Linked DNA regions of Homo sapiens: region 1 is linked to region 2. The links are contacts of gene promoters, found by promoter capture Hi-C in human tissues and cell types (Jung and others, 2019). All regions are on one chromosome and are shown on one strand. The core of a region is centred on a gene start or on the middle of the fragment in contact, and the rest is flanking DNA. Distances in the headings are between cores, read along the strand shown. Region 1 overlaps ARHGAP31 (Rho GTPase activating protein 31). Region 2 holds the start of POPDC2 (popeye domain cAMP effector 2).

Region 1 (2,971 bases), core at 61-2,560, 350 kb after region 2:
AAATACAGATGGAAACTAGCAGGCTAGATGGCTGTCACTGTGATTATAGCCTTTTTATCATAAACTTTATAAGGGAGGAAGAATTATTTTTAGATTATTTTCTTTTTCTAATTGCTAAAGAAATATAAAACTTAGAAAGTTTGCCACATTCCCACCCCAGATATATTTATCAACAGATTAGAATCTTAAAACTAGCATTTTTATACATCCACCCAAGGGAAATAAATAATTGTGTACATACAAGAGAATTTCTTAGAGAAAGAAACCCCTAGGGATAGATGGGGGCCTTGGAATATTTGTTCTCAGCTTTCTCAACTTCCACATCTATAGCATAACCGAGGAACCATACTTTTAGTAATAAGGCTGAAACACGGTAAGATTTCCAATCCTCAAGGAAATGATAACCATAGTTAATAGGTATGGAAGGTTTACTAAATTCCAAACAGTGCACTAGTTGCTTTAATGCTCATAATGGCTCTATGTGGTAGGTACCATTATCATCATAATCTCCACTTTACAGATGAAGAAACTGAGGCATAGAGAGGTTTGGTAGCTTGTCCATGGTCACAAACCTAGCATGTGGTAGAGTTGGAATTTGAATCATGGTAGTCTATCAGCAAACAAACCATATGCTCAACCACCCTGCTACACACTGCGGATAGGTTAATTGGTTTCACTATACTGGATCTATTAAGGCATGAAAAAAAAAACTAACAGACTTAGTTTTTTTTTTCTAAAAATAAAGATTGAAACAAAGGGCATTTATGAAAAAGCCAATGACTCAAGACACACTATTCCTAAAATAATTTTAGAAATGTTTCTTTCTGATTTAAAAGATAAAAATGTATCTTCAGTGTTGAAATGTTGGGCAATATAAAAGTATAATGAAGAAAATAAAAATCGTGTCGTTTCACATAGCTGCTTCTTTCTGTGTGCTAAGTCAGTGTTTCTCAAAGTGAGATCAGTAGGCCAAGGATATTAGATCACCTGGAGCTCATCTTTAAAATGTGGATTTCCCACCCCAGACCAACAAAAGTAAAATCCCTGAGGAACTGGACCTCAGAATCCTGACTTGCAGCAGCACTTTACAGCTTGCTGCCCTATAAACTATGGAACCCATTCGGTAGAATCATATGTTCTCCATCGACCCAGACATTACACAACCTATGCAAATACCCGTTTGAAAACTTTTTTTTTGAGACAAAGTCTCACACCGTCCCCCAGGCTAGAGTGCAGTGGTGCGATCTCGGCTTACTGCAACTTCCACCTCCCAGGTTCAAGCAATTCTCGTGCCTCAGCCTCCCATGTAGCTGGGATTACAGGCACGCGCCACCATGCCCAGCTAATTTTTGTAATTTTTTTAGTAGAGATGGGGTTTCACCATGTTGGCCAGGCTGGTCTTGAATTCCTGACCTCAAGTGATCCACCCACCTAACCTCCCAAAGTGCTATGATTACAGGCCTGAGCCACCACACCCGGCCCCATTTGAAAACTTTTACTAGATGTCCATTTTGTCTCAAGGAGTCCAAAACTGGATTTGAAGAGTATCTCTAGTAGTATACTAAAATTGACTAATATTTAATTTTAAAATTAAAATTTAAAAGCAAGAATTACATTTTTAGTCTTTCTTATGCCCAGTAAAGTTTGAGAAATGCTGCCCAAGGATTAACAAGAGAGGTCCAGAATTCTCGGACTCTGAATTTAAAACTCATACTGTACCCAGAGAACTAGCCCTCCTTTCCATCTGAAACCAAATTGTCTTTAGAGTTACTAAAGAAAGGAAAACTGAGGAAACCATGCCCCATTTGGAAGTCAGGCTTAGGAGGGGGGAAAACAGGACGTTTACAGATTACCTGAAGGGGATATTCTCCTGGCCTTTAGCTATAGGCTCTGTGTCCAGGGCAGCTACAGCTTTAATGCAGCCTCAGAGGGCCCCCAACCCAAGCAGCGTTTCTGTCCTCAGCTCTGAGCTTGATTCAGAGACCTGCATTTGGCTTTGCTTTTCCAGAAAGCAACATGGCTCTTCTCCATTAGCACCAAGCTCATATTCTAGCTATTAGCCAAACAAAGGATCTTCCAAATATAGGCCCCAAAAAGCATGTGCACTTTGAAGGCCACAATAAAGCTTAAATAGCTAAAACTTGTTAAAAAGAAAGCCAACAATTGTCGCCAAAAGTATGAGTCCTTAGCAGAACAGCAAGACAAAAGCCAGAAAGAGGAACAAAAATATGCATTGTAGGGGAGGGGCTGGCAGGGAGGTGTAGATTTATATGGAAGAGTTGACATCATTGTTTCCCAATAATACCCAGCATGCAGGAAACAGATGGGAAAGAAGTGGTGGAAGGGGCTACTTATGGTAACAGGGCATGCTCTCTGTTTAGAATCCTGCCATTTGGAACCTAAGTGTTTTACTTTGAAAAACTGGGGATGGGAACTCAATTGCCAGAAGTTTTATTAAGTCTAACTAAATCCTACTGAACTTATCACCTTGGCAATGCATGGCAAAATGGAGCTCTGCATATCAGACCTGTTTTACTGCTAGCATAGCTGTGTCTCGTTGGGTCAAGAGCAGACAAAGCCATGGAAGGAGAATTTAATGTTGCACAGACACAGCTGGAGTCTTGCTTCTGCCGCTTCCTGGCTGGGTGACAGGAGGCAAGTTACTTAACCTCTCTGAGTTGGTCCTTCTTCATAAGATGGGGACAAAACAGAACTTTCCATATAGTGGAAGACTCTGCAGTTGGACATTTATGCCATACAGATAGATTTAATCAAGAAACAGAGGGTCAGTTAGCACCATTTTTTAAAAGTTTTATTTTATTTTATTTTATTTTATTTTATTTTATTTTATTTTATTTTGAGACAGAGTCTCACTCTGTCACTCAGGCTGGATTGCAGTAGCGCCATCTTGGGTCAGTGAAACCTGTGCCTCCCGGGTTCAAGCAATTCTTTCGCCTCAGCCTCCCAAGTA
Region 2 (3,008 bases), core at 131-2,630:
TCCACCATGTTGGCCAGGCTGGTCTCGAACTCCAGCCTCACTCAGGTGATCCACCCGCCTCAGCCTCCCAAAGTGCTGCGATTATAGGCGTAAGCCACTGTGCCCAACTAACATTTCTTAGCCTAATGTTTGCATACTCCAGCTTTATCTCTTGGCAGCCCAAAGTAGATTCCTAGGTTCAACCAGAAGTTCCTTGAAAATTGTCAGACTTCATAGAAGTGTGGAGTTGGGAGTCATGGATCTAGTACTGTACTTCCACTTACTGGCAAACCCCTTGGGACAGAGTATTAAGTTTGACAGACTTGGGTTCAAATCCTGGCTCTGCCACTTAGACCATCTGTGGGAGCTTGTTACCTCTCTGAGCCTCAGTTTCTTCCAGATCTAGAAGGAGAATAATATTTATTTTGAAGGATTGTTGTCACAACTAACTTATAAGTGTATAAAATGCCTAATCTAGGTTTGGCACTTCATGGGTGTTTAATAGGTGGGAATTATAATTTGGAAGCACCGGAGTGGGTGGGATGATGATCTGGGCAATGTATTATTATTTGTTTACTATTACCAGATCCAGATATATGCAGGGGAAAGCCAGCTTAGAATTCAAAAAGCCACTTTACATAGCTACTTTTGTTAAATGGATGTCAAATAAATACATAATGATATTTGCAGTGTGACTTAATAAAGGCCTTCAGGGGGTTTTCCAGCTTTCACTGTTAGGATTTTTTCTGATAATAGTCCCATACTTTCCTACTCTGATGTGTCCTCACTCAGAAGCACTGTCTGGCTCTCCCCAAAGGGAGCTCGGGACAGTTTCCTGCCTGAGGTGTTCAGGTGAATTCTGTGCTCACTTTTCCTTTCTCTCTCCTTGTCTGTCTCTCTGACCCTGAGGTCTTATCTTGTCCTCTGGGAGGTATGTTAAGTGCTCTGCCAGGCTGCCTGTGCCTGGCCTGTTTTTTCTCACTGCCAGTACCTCTTGGATTCCAATTCCAAACATGGTATCCATCTGGGGTCACCCTTTCTTCCGGTGCCAAGAGAGAACACATTCCAAATGGAACACAAATGTGCCTCCCATGCTGGCTCTCCTCATTCTGCTTGGGAAAAACAGAGAGCAGGATGTGGCCGCATCATCCCACGCTGCTGGACTTTTCAGTCCTGTAGTGCTACTTTCCCTTGGGACTATTTAGGTTTTTCTGCTAAGAACCAAATTTGAAGACTCCCAAGAAACATGGAACCAAGGAAGCTTGCCAGAGCTCTGCAGGGAGAGCCAGAGCCTTGCTGAGACAGCGGGGGTGGTGGGGAGGAGAGAGGGGGGGAGAGGGGGAGAGAGAGAGAGAGAGAGAAAGAGGTTTTTAAATTCTCCATGAAGTGTACTATGTTCCATCATTCCTTCCCAAAGCCACCGGAAGCATTCCTTCTAGGAAAGGTGGAGTCGGTAGTGAGAAGCCGGAGGTGAGAAGACCCCTGAGCGGATGGATTCATTCATTTTCTGAATTTCCTATGTGAGGACAGTATTAGAGCCCAGTGAGGCTTTGAGAGGCCCCAAAGATGAGCGCCAACAGCAGCAGAGTGGGCCAGCTTCTCTTGCAGGGTTCAGCGTGCATTAGGTGGAAGCAGGATGTGGAAGGGGCTGTCTACCACCTAGCCAACTGCCTCTTACTCCTGGGCTTCATGGGGGGCAGTGGGGTGTATGGATGCTTCTATCTTTTTGGCTTCCTGAGTGCAGGTTACCTGTGCTGCGTGCTGTGGGGCTGGTTCAGTGCCTGTGGCCTGGACATTGTTCTTTGGAGCTTCCTGCTGGCTGTGGTCTGCCTGCTCCAGCTGGCACACCTGGTATACCGCCTGCGTGAGGACACCCTCCCTGAGGAGTTTGACCTCCTCTACAAGACGCTGTGCCTGCCCTTGCAGGTGCCCCTACAGACATACAAGGAGATTGTTCACTGCTGCGAGGAGCAGGTCTTAACTCTGGCCACTGAACAGACCTATGCTGTGGAGGGTGAGACACCCATCAACCGCCTGTCCCTGCTGCTCTCTGGCCGGTAAGCTACTCTATCCATTGCCCAGAATTTCTTTCCCCAGCCCACACTTCTCATTTCCTAGTGTGTCCCTTTCCATTTCATGTCCCTTTCCATTTCGTGTCCCCTTCCATTGAGGGAAGGATGTGACAAGTCAAACAAACCAAAATAGATTTTTCTAAGAGTGGGGTTGCTTCCTCTTTCTTGGCATTTTCCAAGAAGAAACCAGTTCATGAGGCATCTTGGTTGGCAAGAATGATTGTATGTGCACTTGCTGCTGGAAGGTGTGCAGTGCGTGTGTCTTGAGCCTGGGCCTTAAATAACCCCTCTACCATCACCACACACATATCAGTGTGTCATGCCTAAGCTGCAGCAATATCTCTGTAAGCTTTGAAAAACTAACATTTCAATAAGGTTAATCTGTTCCTTACTCAAATTCAACATTTGCTAAGCACCAACTGTATTCAGGGAACAATGCCAGAAATGGGAGGTCGGGATAGCGGGGTGGTTCTCATAACCCCTGTTCCCTGCCAAGGCATCAAGCAAACAGCCCCACTTGTGTTTGGGGTAGCTGTATGTAGCCAGGTAGGGAGAGTGAATACCCCTTGCCCACCTTTCCATTTCCAGTTGTTCTATTGAGGTTCTTGAAGACTAAGAAGTCAAGTACAGTACTGTAAATCTGAGGGCCCAACAATGGGAGAAGAGAAGTGATACACCTATCTCATCAAGGCTTTTGTGGAAGCACCGCCTCTTTTGGAGAAGGCTGACAGTCAGATATGGGCAGAAATGGTCTTAGTCAGGATCAGTGTATGCCCAGTCAACCTGGATGTGAATGTTGGGCATTGATTTCTTCTGAGAAAACATCACGGGGCTCTGTGCTACACACTTAGTAGGCAATTGTGGATTTTTTTATACTGCCCTAGTGGCTCTTGAGCCCCACAACCCCCACTCCACCAGCTTTCTTGAGACCAGGAGAATGTGATAGAAAAGGTAAGA

What was found. The method cuts DNA at HindIII sites, captures the fragments that hold promoters and counts their contacts. A contact is called where the count stands out against the background at its distance.
Region 1: a fragment that was not itself captured here is called in contact with the fragment with the promoter of POPDC2 in region 2 in 1 of the 25 tissues and cell types used here (bladder).

Annotation. Positions count from the first base shown.
Region 1 is chr3:119,304,783-119,307,753 of GRCh38, reverse strand. The region is part of intron 1 of ARHGAP31 (Rho GTPase activating protein 31); the gene reads right to left. Among named protein-coding and RNA genes, the nearest start is that of ARHGAP31, 12 kb to the right of the region's middle. RefSeq lists a silencer at 2,138-2,432. The HindIII fragment of the contact is 3,759 bases long and covers 1-2,971 here.
Region 2 is chr3:119,658,961-119,661,968 of GRCh38, reverse strand. POPDC2 (popeye domain cAMP effector 2) reads left to right here and starts at 1,380. Exons shown (of 4, transcript NM_001369919.2): 1 at 1,380-2,036. The coding sequence starts at 1,546. The HindIII fragment of the contact is 12,678 bases long and covers 1-1,820 here.